Regions from separate parts of the Homo sapiens genome. Here regions 1, 2 and 3 are each linked to region 4. The links are contacts of gene promoters, found by promoter capture Hi-C in human tissues and cell types (Jung and others, 2019). All regions are on one chromosome and are shown on one strand. The core of a region is centred on a gene start or on the middle of the fragment in contact, and the rest is flanking DNA. Distances in the headings are between cores, read along the strand shown. Region 1 overlaps CDC123 (cell division cycle 123). Region 2 overlaps NUDT5 (nudix hydrolase 5). Region 3 has its middle 71 kb from the start of CDC123. Region 4 holds the start of MCM10 (minichromosome maintenance 10 replication initiation factor).

Region 1 (3,373 bases), core at 769-3,268, 960 kb before region 4:
AGGGATGCAGATCTTCCATGCCCTACCTACACGTGCCACCTTCCAGAAGCTCCATGTGTTCAGCTATCCGGAAGCTCTTTGTACTTCACAAGAAAGTGGGAGATGGCTGTGGAGGTCTGCCATGGACCCTAATTCTTCATGCCTCATCCTCCATTACTTCCACATATAGTACATGCCTTTCTTTCCAGACTCTATAAGGTATAGTCTTGTTTACAGTTAGAATTTAGCACATAGTCTGGGTTCAATAAATATTGGTTGAATGAGTGAATGAACATGCTTATCCTACTTTCTCTCCATGGTAACCTCTACTGAGTTCAGTGAATAGAATAGGCCAAGTATGATGACTAGTTTACCTTGTTTGCCGACTCAGATCTAATGGTAATGGTTTCCTGGAGTGATATGTAGAGGATTCTGAGGCTGCATCCAGGGTTCGGTGAGAAAGCATGCTTGGTTTGATTCTCGTTGCCTGCTGTGGGTGTAGGAAAGGAGGCTGGCAATGTGCTTTTCTGATAGAGACAGTGATTCAATTTCACTGAACAGTTATTGCATGCCTAGTATGAGATGGGCACCAAGGAAACGGGCACCAAGCTTGATACTAGCGTAACAAGATGAGCAGGGCATCCTACCGTAGGAGTCTAGGCTTATTAGCAAGTCAAACATAAATAAATAAATAAATGTCTTGAGTTGTGTTGCGAAAAATGTTTTTGAATAAAAGCATCAACCAGCTGTGGTGGCTCATGCCTGTAATCTAGCACTTTAGGAGGCGGAGGTAAGAGGATCACTTGAGGCCAGGAGATGGAGACCAGTCTGGCCAACATAGTGGGGCCCCATCTCTACAAAAAAATAAGAAATTAGCTGGGCGTGTTGGCACACACCTGTAGTCCCAGCTGCTCAGGAGGCTGACACACAAGGATGGCTTGAACCCAGGAATTGGAGGCTGCAGTGAGCTATGATCATGCCTCTGCACTCCAGCCTGGGCAACAGAGCAAGACCTTGTCTCAAAAAAAAAAAAAAAAAAGTATCAGGTATTCTGATAAGTAATGTATTTGGGGTTTAATTAATCACTGTGAGCTGGGGTCATCCAGAAAGTGTTTACAGTAAGGTGATACTTGAACTGAGCCCACACACTGGGTCTGACGCAGGTGGTACCTCCCTTCCAGGCACTAATCCTCATTGTTTCTTCTTGGTCACGAGTTCTTTCCTGACCTTGTCTCCCTTAAGGCTGAATAGTAAAATGAGTTGAGCATCCCTAATTAGAAAATCTGAAATCTGTCCAGATGGGTGCTGAGATAGTGACATTTTTGCTTTCTGAATATTGTATAAAATTACCTTTGAGCCATGTGTATAAGATGTATGTGACACTGACACATAAATGATTTTTTTAAATTTTTTAATTTTTAGTTTTTGTGGGTACATAGTGTACATATTTATGGGGAACAAGAGATGTTTTGATCCAGGAATGCAATGTGACATTAGCACATCGTGGAGAAAGGGGTGTCCATCCCCTCAAGCATTTATTCATTAAGTTGCAAACAATCCAATTACAGTCTTTATTTTTAGATGTACAGTTATTATTGACTATAGTCACTCTATTGTTCTGTCAAGTAGTAGGTCTGTGGTCGGGTGCTGTGGCTCATGCCTGTAATTCCAGCACTTTTGGAGGCTCAGGTGGGCAGATCACCTGAGGTCAGGAGTTCAAGACCAGCCTGGCCCAACATGGTGAAACCCCGTCTCAACTAAAACTACAAAAATTAGCTGGGCATGGTGGCAGGCGCCTGTAATCTCAGCTGCTCAGGAGGCTGAGGCAAGAGAATCACCTGAACCTGGAAGATGGAGGCTGCAGTGAGCCGAGATCGTGCCACTGCACTCCAGCCTGGATGACAGAGTGAGACTCCATATCAAAAAAAAAAAAAAAAAAAAAAGGTCTTATTCATTCTTTCTACTTTTTTTGGTACTCATTAACCCCCACCTCCTCACAGTCCCCTACTACCCTTCACAGCCTTTGCTAACCATCTTTCTACTCTCTATATCCATGAGTTCAATTAGTTTTTAGATCCCACAGATAAGTGAAAACGTGGTGTTTGTCTTCCTGTGCCTGGCTTACTTCACTTAACATAATGATCTCCAGTTTCATCCATTTTGTTGCAAACGACTGGATCTCATTCTTTTTTAATGACTGAATAGTACTCCATTGTGTATATGTACCACATTTTCTTTATCCATCATCAGTTGGTGAGCACTTAGGTGGCTTCCAAATCTTAGCTATTGTAAACAGTGCTGCAACAAACAGGAGTTTACGTTTAGACTTGGGTCCCATCCCTAAGATATCTCATATATATGCAAATACTCCAAAATCCCAAACACTTTTGACCCCAAGCATTTTGGATATAGGATCCTCAACCAGTAGATGCCAATTATAAAATACATTAGGCATATTCATATTTTGATTCTTCACAATTCTGTGAAGTAGTTGCTATTTTCCCAGTTTTATAGATGGCATATTGATGCAAAGTTCTTGGCTGACAGTGGCAGAACTGAGATATTTAAACTCTGTCTGCCTGCCTCTAGAGCCACTGCTCTGGTGTGCCAGCTCTGTGTAAGTTGTAATATAGAAAATATAGCATCCTAAATATTAGCACCATACTTTATCCATTTAGTTCTCTGCATGCAGAGGGTTACCTTAGAAAGCCAAGTCTAATAAACTTTCACTTTTTTTTTTTTTTTGAGGCAGAGTCTCACTGTGTCACCTAGGCTGGAGTGCAGGGGCACGATCTTGGCCCACTGCAACCTCTGCCTACCGGGTTCAAGCGATTCCCTTGCCTCAGCCTCCTGAGTAGCTGGGACTACAGGTGCCTGCGACCACGCCCAGCTAATTTTTTTTGTATTTTTAGTAGAGATGGGGTTTCACTATTTTGGCCAGGCTAGTCTTGAACTCCTGACCTCATGATCCACCCGCCTTGGCCTCCCAAAGTGCTGGGATTACAGGCGTGAGCCACCGTACTTGGCCAAACTTGCATATTTTTATACATTGTCACCTTTTACAGTGAATAAAATTTGTCATACTTTACAGTAGGCACTGCAATAATTTCTGAAGAACTATATGAATACCTTGATAACAAGTATGTTTTTTAAAATGTATGTTGTTATACTAACAAATATGGTAAGTGATTTTTAGAGTGGTAGAATACATTTTCATATTTCATCTTATATTGTAAGATTAGGTAAGCAGCCATGTTAAAGATAATGTTGCATTTGAAAATATTATGTGGCATTTAAAGAGAGACGTAAGAGAGAAAGGCTGGCCCCTTGGGCAGGGATTCACACGCTGACAGTGTGTTAGTATTTCCACTATAGAACAGTTCTTAGCTTTGAC
Region 2 (3,341 bases), core at 588-3,087, 970 kb before region 4:
GCTCTCAACCTCCTGACATCAAGTGATCTGCCCTCCTTGGCCTCCCAAAGTGCTGGGATTACAGGCGTGAGCTACCGCGCCCAGCCTGATTTTTCTGACTCCGAATCTTAAACTCTTTCCAAGGGAAGACAGAAGAAAGATTTACCACTCTCCATGCCCACCTCTCAGTCTTTTATCCATCTGTTACACCTAAACTTACTTATTTTTTGAGATGTAAGATCTCACTCTGTTGCACAGGTTGGAGTGCAGTGGCGAAATCATGGCTCACTGTAGCCTCTACCTCCCAAGCTCACGTGCTCCTCGCATCTCAGCCTCCTGAGTAGCTGGGATTACAGGTGCATGCTACCACAGCCAACTAATGTTTTAAACTTTTGGTAGAGGTGGGGTCTCACTATGTTTCACAGGCTGGTCTCAGACTCCCGGGCTCAAGCGATCCTCCTCCCGCCTCGGTGTCCCAAAGTGCTGGGATTACAGGCATGAGCCACTGGACCCACCTCCCCACTTACTTTTAAGTTTCAGCATGTATCAAAGTCATAGTTGCAGAGAAAGGATCGAGTAGTACTACAAGTTCTGTTATGAAAAGAGCAGGCCCTTATCCCATTTATTGTATATTATTATTTCCTCTTTCTTTATTCCTTCATTTTCGGACCTTGCCTGTCCGAAGGTCAAAGTCTTTTTTTCTTACCCACACACATGGTTGTTAATTCAGCTGTATATAGAATTATAGACCCAAAGCCAGTTGTCTATGAAACTGTAAGGCATTGCTTAGTTGTCTTACTTCTGGTGCTGCTGTTGAGAAGTCCAAAGCTATTCTTATTCTTGATCTTTTTGCCATGTGACCTGTCTTCCTCCTCTGGAAGCTTGTAGTTAGTCACTTTCATGTCGATGTTATTGTACTGGGAAGTCAAGTGGGTCCTTTCAATCTGGAAACTTCTTACTATGCTTCTTTACAGGGAATTTTTTTCTTGAACGACTTCACTGATGATTTCCTCCCCTGTGTTTTCTCTGTTGTTTCTTTTAAGAACTGTTACTTGGACCAGGCACAGTGGCTCACACCTGGAATCCTAGCCCTTTGGGGGACCAAGAGTCTGAGACCAGCCTGGGTAACATGGCAAAACCCTGTCTCCACAAAAATAAAAAATAAAAAAATTAGCCGGGTGTGGTGGTGGGCACCTGTAGTCCCAGCTACTCAGGAAGCTGAGGCAGGAGGGTCATTTGGACCCAGGAGTTGGGGGTTGCAGAGAGCCGAGATCACGCCACTGCACTCTTACGTTCCACGGTTCTCTAACCTACCCCACCTAACTTCGGCTTCAAAGAAAATACAGCCCACCCAGCATCAACTCTCTTCCCAACTGTCCTAAAGGAAAAAGTGAGTCTGCTCTTTGTTTCTTCTGGGACCCAAAGTGATCATACTACCCATCTGATCTTCAATTTGTCCCCAAGACAGCAAGCTTCCCTATTCTAAAATACAATCAATAACAAAACCAACTGTATGAATATTCATAAAGTGCGTTTACAAATCAAATATCTGATTGACTATCATAGGTAACCCTTGTGGCCAACCTGTGAAAGGTGAGATGATGTTTTAGGAAAGTGGCGGTGAGGCCGGGTGCGGTGGCTCACGCCTCACGCCTACAATCCCAGCACTTTGGGAGGCCAGGGCGGGTGGATCACGAGGTCAAGAGATGGAGACCATCCTGGCCAACATGGTGAAACCCTGTCTCTACTAAAAATACAAAAATTAGCTGGACGTGGTGGGGTGCGCCTGTAGCCCCAACTACAGGGAAGGCTGAGGGAGGAGAATGGCTTGAACCCAGGAGATGGAGGTTGCAGTGAGCTGAGATCGTGCCACTGCACTGCAGCCTGGCGACAGAGCAAGACTCCATCTAAAAAAAAAAAAAAAAAAAAAAAAGTGGTGGTGAGAGGGACAAAGACCCTCACTCCCCCGGACCTCATTTTCCAGTGAGGAGAAAGGAAAAACAGTGAGGAAGAACACAAAATTTATGTCAAGTGACTCAGCGTTTCATGAAGAAAGATTAAAAAGGATGAGAAGTGTGGGGAAGATGGGAAGAGTAATCTACACGGAGTGATCAGGCAAGGCCTGTTTAATTTGGTGACTTCTGAATGGAGACCTGAAAGCAATAAGGAAGTAAACCACGTAGAAGTTTAAATATTTAGAGACAGACATTAGCATATTGAAACCTGCAGCCCTACTAAGAAAACAGGCACTTATTCCTTTGAAAGTACCATAGATGATAATTTATTAGGTAAACTTTTTTTTTTGAGATGGAGTTTCGCTCTTGTTGCCCGGCTGGAGTGCAAAGGCATGATCTCGGCTCACTGCAACCTCTGCCTCACGGATTCAAGCGATTCTCCTGCCTCAGCCTCCCGAGTACCTGGGATTACAGGCTCCTACCACTGCACCCGGCTAATTTTTACATTTTTAGTAGAGATGGGGTTTTGCCATGTTGGGCAGGCTGGCCTCGAACTCCTGACCTCAGGTGATCCACCAGCCTCAGCCTCCCAAAGTGCTGGGATTACAGGCGTGAACCACCGTGCCTGGCCGCTAAAAGAGAGTATTTCTTTGGAATGCAATCAGCCTCAAAGGGAAACAGTATCGTGCAGCAATCCACTGATTCCGTGAATGACAAAAATGAGCTATTTCAAGAGCATATTCTTAACTATGAGATTCCCAAACATTTCAGAAGGACTGTAAAAGTACCTCAGAAATTTTTAGAAACAGAAAAGGAATGTTGTTTTTAGCACCATTTCAAAAGCAGAAGCCAAATAGTGCCATTCGGGGGCCAGTCACTGCCAGCAACACGCTGCAGAAAGAACGAGAAATGAGCTTTAAATTCCGTGCTTTGTAAGCCAGCGTCTCCGCCACTGCAACGGAGTTTGCCTTCACTGACTCAACGCTATTTCAAGATTTAAAAGCAAACTTTGATATAAATTTTATCCACTTCATTAGTTAGAATTTAAGGTAATTTGCATATTGCCAATATGTGTATGGTATGAAAAAGATACATGTACACGATGTTGAGTGTTCTACAATTTTTTTTTTTTTTTTTGAGACAGAGTCTTGCCTTGTCGCCCAGGCTGGAGTGCAGTGGCGCGATCTCCGCTCACTGCAAGCTCCGCCTCCTGGGTTCATGCCATTCTCCTGCCTCAGCCTCCCAAGTAGCTGGGATTACAGGTACCTGCCACCATGCCTGATTAATTTTTTGTATTTTTAGGAGAGACGGGGTTTCACCGTGTTAGGATGGTCTCGATCTCCTGACCTCGTGATCCACCCGCCTCGGCCTGCCAAAGTGCTGGAATTACAGGCGTGAGTCACCGCG
Region 3 (3,451 bases), core at 200-2,699, 890 kb before region 4:
AGAGTAGCGCAGGGGGCTGCTGGTTGTCCATTTTTATGGTTATTTCTGGATGATACGCTAAACAAGCGGTGGATTATTCATGCCTCCCCTTTTTAGACCATACAGGGTAATTCCTGATGTGGCCTTGGCATTTGTAAACTGTCATAGCGCTGGTGGGAGTGTAGCAGTGAGGACCACCAGAGGACACTGTCCTCGCCATGTTGGTTTTGGCCACTGTTTTACTGCAACCTGTTTTATCAGCAAGGTCTTTATGACCTGTGTTTTGTGCGGATCTCCTATCTTATCCTGTGACTTAGAATGCCTTAACCATCTGGGAATGCAGCCCAGTAGGTCTCAGCCTTATTTTACCCAGCTCCTGTTTAAGATGGAGTTGCTCTGGTTCAAACGCCTCTGACAAAGGGACAGTCATTTCACCTCACACATGAAAGCAAACCTAAAATTTTCTCTATTGGAAGTTCAATCTTGGCTAAGGGCATGATTTAGAAATCAAAGGAGTCTGACCTTCACGTGGTTTTGAACACTTGTGGAAAGGTAGCTGTGGGAAGGGACGTAGCCTTTGTAATGCAAGAGGAGAGAATGGGGTGTGGGGCGTGTGGCCCAGAAATGACACAGAACTCTGACAGCACTGCCCGGTTGCCATGTAGCTAGGTAAATATTTGCAAAGCACCTACTGCTTCTCCGGACTCGGGGCAAGTGTCTACTGGGCATGAAACCATCTCCGTGGGGAAGTGAGCCTTACCCAGTTCTTATCTCCCTCTTGAGGCCAAGTTCACAGAATATGACACAACTTCCAGAGGAAAGGGGGGCCTGCCAGTTCTTATCTTCCTCTCTCAGCTGGCATTGGGACATTTTAGTGGCCAGGACCAATGTGTTATCTGTAGGAGCCCTGAAGAGAAGAGGTGGGCCCAGAGGCTTTTTTTTTTTTTTTTTTTTTTTTTTTTTGAGACAGAGTCTCGTTCTGTCGCCAGGCTGGAGTGCAGTGGTGCGATCTCGGCTCACTGCAAGCTCCGACTCCCTAGTTCAAGCGATTCTCCTGCCTCAGCCTCCCAAAGAGCTGGAATTACAGGCACACACCACCACACCTAGCTAATTTTTGTATTTTTAGTAGAGACAGCGTTTCACCATGTTGGCCAGGGTGGTCTCGCTCTCCTGACCTTGTGATCCGCCTGCCTCGGTCTCCCAAAGTGCTGGGATTACAGGTGTGAGCCACCGCGCCCGGCCAAGACTCGTCTTCTGGATATTAATTCCCGGAGCTGTCATTTCCTGAGAGCTCATGATCAAGAGGCATTGAGAGGTAGACCAGCTCGCTGTATAATTGTTAGCGGTGCCAATCTGTAAGGCACGCTACAGTGTCATGGAGCTGTAATGAGATGGAAAATCATATTTCTCAGAGGTCTTCTCAGGTAGACTATTCTTTTTTAAAAATTTCAAATACAATTTAAAAACAAGTGCATGTTTTAAAATGTCATTTACCAAATCAAAAGCCAAACTAATAGAAAAAAAAATTTGTAACAAATATGCCAGATCAAAGCTTAATATAGTTAACATACAAATAAAAGGACTTCAAAATTAAACAAAATAAGATTGGGTTAAGGATGTTATACAGGCAATTCATAAAGGAAAAAACACAAATATACAATAAATATATAAAAAGATGTTCAAGACAGAATAAAAAATGCATATTACACTGTTGTAGAATAATATTTTTATGTAACCAAGTGAGAAATATTTTTAAATGGCAATATAATTGGTGTAGAAATGTAATCCTATGTAATTCTGCAATATATATGTTCAAAAGGCTTTTTTTTTCTTTTTAGGAAAGGCCTCTATTATAGATTTGATTAAAAAATATATATATATAGCCTGGCGCGGTGGTCACGCCTGTAATCCCAGCACTTTGGGAGGCTGAGGCCAGCGGATCACGAGGTCAGGAGATCGAGACCATCCTGGCTATCACAGTGAAACCCCGTCTCTACTAAAAATACAAAAAAATTAGGCGGGCGTGGTGGCGGGTGCCTGTAGTCCCAGGTACTCGGGAGGCTGAGGCAGGAGAATGGCGTGAACCCGGGAGGCGGAGCTTGCAGTGAGCCGAGATCGCGCCACTGCACTCCAGCCTGGGCGACCGAGAGAGACTTAAATAAATAAATAAATATAGAACCATTTAGATTTTCTATTTTTGTGTATCTGTTTTGCCTTTTTTTTTTTTTAGACGGGGTCTCACTCTGTCGCCAGGCTGGAGTGCAGTGGCGCAATCTTGGCTCAAGGTAACCTCCGCCTCCCGGGTTCAAGCGATTCTCCTGCCTCAGCCTCCCGAGTAGCTGGGACTACAGGCACGTGCCACCACGCCCAGCTAATTTTTGTATTTTTAGTAGAGACGGGGTTTCACCCTGTTAGCCGGGATGGCCTCAATCTCTTGACCTTGTGATCTGCCTGCCTCGGCCTCCCAAAGTGCTGGGATTACAGGTATGAGCCACCACACCCAGCCTTTTTTTTTTTTTTTTGAGACGGAGTCTCGCTCTGTCTCCCAGGCTGGAGTGCGGTGGCGCAATCTCAGCTCACTGCAAGCTCCGCCTCCCAGGTTCACGGCATTCTCCCGCCTCAACCTCTGGAGTAGCTGGGACTACGGGCACCCACCACCAGGACCGGCTAATTTTTTTTTTTTTTTTTTTTTTTTTTGTATTTTCAGTAGAGACGGGGTTTTCACCATTCACAGGATGGTCTAAATCTCCTGACCTTGTGATCCGCCCACCTCGGCCTCCCAAAGTGCTAGGATTACAGGGGTAAGCCACCGCACCTGGCCTTTTTTTTTTTTTTTTTTTTTTAGATTGTGTCTCACTCACTCTGTTGCTCAGGCTGGAGTGGAGTGGCATGATGTCAGTTCACTTGCAACCTCTGCCTCCGAGGTTCAAGCAATTCCCCTGCCTGAGCCTCCCAAGTAGCTGCGATTACAGGCATGCACCACCATGCCTAGCTAATTTTGTATTTTTAGTAGAGATGGGATTTCACCATGTTGGCCAGGGTGGTCTCTAACTCCTGACCTCAGGTGATCTGCCAGCCTCGGCCTCCCAAAGTGCTGGGATTACAGGCGTGAGCCACCGTGCCTGGCCTGTTTTGCAAGTTTTTAAAATTAAATATATATTTTCAAAAACTCAAGTCCAAAAGACTGGTCTCTTGGGTCTCTCCTCCTTTTCCAGCAATTGTGGATATAGGAATTACCCTGACCTGATCACTGTACATTATGTATATTGCAACATCACTATCTACCCTGTAAATATGTACAGCTATTATCTGTCAATTAAAATGTGTGTGTGCGTGTGTGTTTTTAAATCAGTTAGACTAGGCTGGACATGGTGGCTCATGCCTGTAATCCCAACACTTTGGGAGGCCGAGGTGGGAGGCTTGTTTGAGGCCAGGAATTCAAGACCAGCCTGGGCAATGTAGTGAGCCCCTG
Region 4 (3,583 bases), core at 183-2,682:
TAGTGATGCATTTATTTATTTATTTATTTATTTATTTATTTATTTATTTAGACAGAGTCTGGCTCTGTCGCCAGGCTGGAGTGCAGTGGCGAGATCTCGGCTCATCACTGCAATCGCCACCTCCCAGGTTCAAGCGATTCTCCGCCTCAGCCTCCCAAGTAGCTGGGATTACAGACGCGCACCACTACGCCCAGCTAATTTTTGTGTTGTGTGTGTTTTTAGTAGAGATGGGGTTTCACCATGTTGGCCAGGCTGGTCTCGAACTCCTAACCTCGTGATCCACCCACCTCGGCCTCCCAAAGTGCTGGGATTACAGGGGTGAGCCACCGTGCCCGGCCTTAGTGCCGTATGTTTAAAAGTACGCATTTAAACATACTTTTTCAATTTGATTACTAGAGTTCCTCCATTACTATGAATTTTTAACACTAGCAGCTCTCAGAAATGGTTGTATTCCTATTCCTGAGCCAATATAGGTTTAAGTAATAGGGCTGAGCTCATAAATGGAGCAGTAATATTCCATTAGGACACAGAAAAAAGTCAACGTAGATGGCATCAGGACTGTTTATCTTCAGTCTTCCTAAAGTCGATTTTAATTGTTCTGAAAATGAAAGTACGTAGTGGATAGAGATAGGATCTTATACCAAAGGGATTATTAGTGGGGGAACTGCAGTGCCTGAACAGTGTCTGCAAGGAGGAAAAGGGGGGAAAGACTTAAAGTGGCCATTTGGTCCATCAAAGTCTCTTCTGCTATCAATCCCTTGAAATTATGTAAAAGCTAAATGTTATTCTGCATTTAGAAACTATGTTCTTAGTATTATGTACAAACACTATTTTTTAGAATGTAAATACATAAAGAGGCCTGAATTTTACTGAAAAAAAAATCTGTGAAAGATATGGTCTGCTGATAAGTTCTCTTCAGCCCTGACGCCCCTTAGAAGTCCCAAAATCTATGGAACAGGAATTACTCGGGAAATGGTGGTTTCAGTGTAAAAGATGTCATCTACCCTTTCCCTCACTGCACAGATGGTGAAGGGGAAACTCAGAGAGATAAGTCACTTCCCCAAGGTCAGACAGGGTAAAAGTGGACCGGATCTGTTTGGTCCTGAGCCCAAACATTTCGAATGGACATAAGGCTGACAAAGGAACAGTCGGTCCCAGAGCGTCAGGAGTTGAGGTGGGATGGGACCGCAGGGAAAATACTGGGTGGGATGACTTAAACTTCCCGGCACCAGGGGGCGCCAGACACTCTATTTTACCTAAAGGAGACTGGCTTCTACCGACAGGAAGGTCCCTTGCCCCCAACAAAGAGGGCGTCCAATGACGTAAACCAATCCGATTGCTCTGTGCCAGGGCCGGGATTCGCTGGCGTAGCCAGTCAGTGCTGCCCCACAGCCGCGTGCGTCTGACGTCAAGGCAGGGGCGGGATCCGGTTGGAATTTTGGCGGGTTCAGCTGTGAACGAAGAAGGCGTCCCGGCATCGGGTGAGGAGCGCGGGCCCCGGGCGTGCGTGTGACCCTCGGGCGGCGGGGCCGGGGCCGCCTCGCACGTCTCTGCGCGGGTTGCAAGGGGTCCGAGGCTAGAGGCGCGGGGTCCCGGGAGCTCGGGTGGGCGCGATCTGGATTTGGCGGCAGCTTGGGACCGCTCGGAGCTGGCATGGCCGGGCCGGGGGCTGGGAGTTGCTGGCCGTCTACTAAGGAATCGGGTTCTTCCTTTTAAACGCAGCCTTTTAAGTGCTTGCCAAGTGCCTGCCGCCTGGGCTTTCTTTTATTCATTCATTCATTCATTCATTCATTGGTTTCTCGTATTCATGATTTGCCAATGATTATTGAATGCGGACGGTGTGCATGGCTCGGATCACATTTCCGCTGCCTTCACAGCGCTTACAGTTTAAAGGCACGAGCAGGTAGTAAACAAATGCACGACAGTGGACGACTCAGGGTGGTCCAGAAAGTCTCAGAAAGATGAGTAAGTGGAGACCGAAGGGCGAGAAGGACCTGGGGGGAGCTTTCTTCGACAGAGCCTGAGACCTCAAAGCAGCTTAGTGTGTTCCAGAAGGTGGAAGCGGGCTGGCCCGGCTGGAGCATCGTTATGGGTGTCGGGGTGGGTAGAATTGGACGTGGTGGATTGTGGAAAATGTGAGGGAGTAGAAAGCTTGGAAAGAGAGAGAGAATATGAATCATTGCCTCGCAGGCTTTGTAGATTTTTTCTAAGGGCAATGGAAAATCATTAAAGAATTTCAATGAAGGGACCCCCATGATCTGATTTATGTTCCTAAAGGTTACTAAGGAAAGGGAAGATTACCGTGGCTGTCGTATGCAGAACAGATTGCACGGGGACAAAGAGACCAACATAGAAAGCTAACACAGTCATTGGGTTAAAGGTTGACGGTGGCTTGGCCTAGGGTTCTGGCAGTGAAGTTGGAGAGAAGTGGCAGATTTGAGCAGTGTTTTGGAGATGGGACCACAGTACTTGTCAGTGGCCGTGGATTTGAGGGCGAGGGAGGGTGCACAGTTTCATTTTGGGGGAAGGCAAGGCCGGTTACAGACTTGAACGAGACAGTTTGCTCCTAACGCTCAGGAAGCTTACTGTCCAATAGGTTCCCCAGTAGATAGCACAGTGTGTGGCACATGAGGGATCCGTGGAAATGTTGGTTGAATGAATTTTTAAAAAGCGGCCAGGCGCGGTGGCTCACGCCTGTAATCCCAGCGCTTTGGGAGGCCAAGGCGGACGGATCACCAGGTCAGGAGATCGAGACCATCCTGGCTAATACGGTGAAACCCCATCTCTACTAAAAATACAAAAAATTAGCCGGGCGTGGTGGCGGGCGCCTGTAGTCCCAGCTACTCGGGAGGCTGAGGCAGGAGAATGGCGTGAACCCGGGAGGCGGAGCTTGCAGTGAGCCAAGATCGCCCCATTGCACTCCAGCCTGGGTGACAGAGACTCCGTCTCAAAAAAAAAAAAAAGCACCTTTGGGAGTCCAAGGCTGATGGATCACTTGACATCAGGAGTTCAAGACCAGCCTGGGCAACATGGCGAAACCCTGTCTCTACAAAAAACACAAAAATTAGCCGGGTGTGGTAGTGCACGTTTGTAATCCCAGCTACTTGGGAGGCTGGGGCAGGAGAATCACTGGAGCCTGGGAGGCGGAGGTTGTAGTGAGCCAATAGCACCACTGCACTCCAGCCCCAGCGACAGAGCGAGATCCTGTCTAAAAAAAGAAAAGAAAGTACCATAATCACTGTAATTAGTTCCTTGACATTGAACTTGCCAAAGAGCACATGTAAGTTAAATAAGAGCCTAGAAAAATGTATACTTTCTTACTTGCAGTTTAAAAAATAACCTTAAATGAAAAGAGAAGTGCACAAAGTGATACAACTTTGTCTTAATTAGCTACGCTGTTTCTCTGTGCTTTGCTGACTAGTATTGAATCAAAATCCTGATTGTCACTAAGGCTCCACCTAAGTAGAATCATACAGTAAGCTGTCGTGGATAACGCAGATGTCAGGTGTATTACAGTGAATAAAATGAAAGAATAGCCTAATGTAGATCGACCCCAATAATTTGTGTGTGTGTGTGTGTAATT

The links. The method cuts DNA at HindIII sites, captures the fragments that hold promoters and counts their contacts. A contact is called where the count stands out against the background at its distance.
Region 1: a fragment that was not itself captured here is called in contact with the fragment with the promoter of MCM10 in region 4 in 2 of the 25 tissues and cell types used here (IMR-90 fibroblasts and dorsolateral prefrontal cortex).
Region 2: a fragment that was not itself captured here is called in contact with the fragment with the promoter of MCM10 in region 4 in 1 of the 25 tissues and cell types used here (thymus).
Region 3: a fragment that was not itself captured here is called in contact with the fragment with the promoter of MCM10 in region 4 in 1 of the 25 tissues and cell types used here (H1 embryonic stem cells).

The regions. Positions count from the first base shown.
Region 1 is chr10:12,203,093-12,206,465 of GRCh38, forward strand. The region is part of intron 2 of CDC123 (cell division cycle 123); the gene reads left to right. Among named protein-coding and RNA genes, the nearest start is that of CDC123, 8.6 kb to the left of the region's middle. The HindIII fragment of the contact is 5,747 bases long and covers 1-3,373 here.
Region 2 is chr10:12,186,841-12,190,181 of GRCh38, forward strand. All of the region lies in intron 1 of NUDT5 (nudix hydrolase 5), which reads right to left. Among named protein-coding and RNA genes, the nearest start is that of NUDT5, 7.4 kb to the right of the region's middle. RefSeq lists an enhancer at 3,238-3,341. The HindIII fragment of the contact is 4,727 bases long and covers 1-3,341 here.
Region 3 is chr10:12,265,198-12,268,648 of GRCh38, forward strand. No RefSeq gene overlaps it. Among named protein-coding and RNA genes, the nearest start is that of CDC123, 71 kb to the left of the region's middle. The HindIII fragment of the contact is 6,741 bases long and covers 1-3,451 here.
Region 4 is chr10:13,160,126-13,163,708 of GRCh38, forward strand. It overlaps MCM10 (minichromosome maintenance 10 replication initiation factor), which reads left to right and starts at 1,433. Exons shown (of 20, transcript NM_018518.5): 1 at 1,433-1,481. RefSeq lists silencers at 1,182-1,495, 1,518-1,697. The HindIII fragment of the contact is 5,218 bases long and covers 1-2,366 here.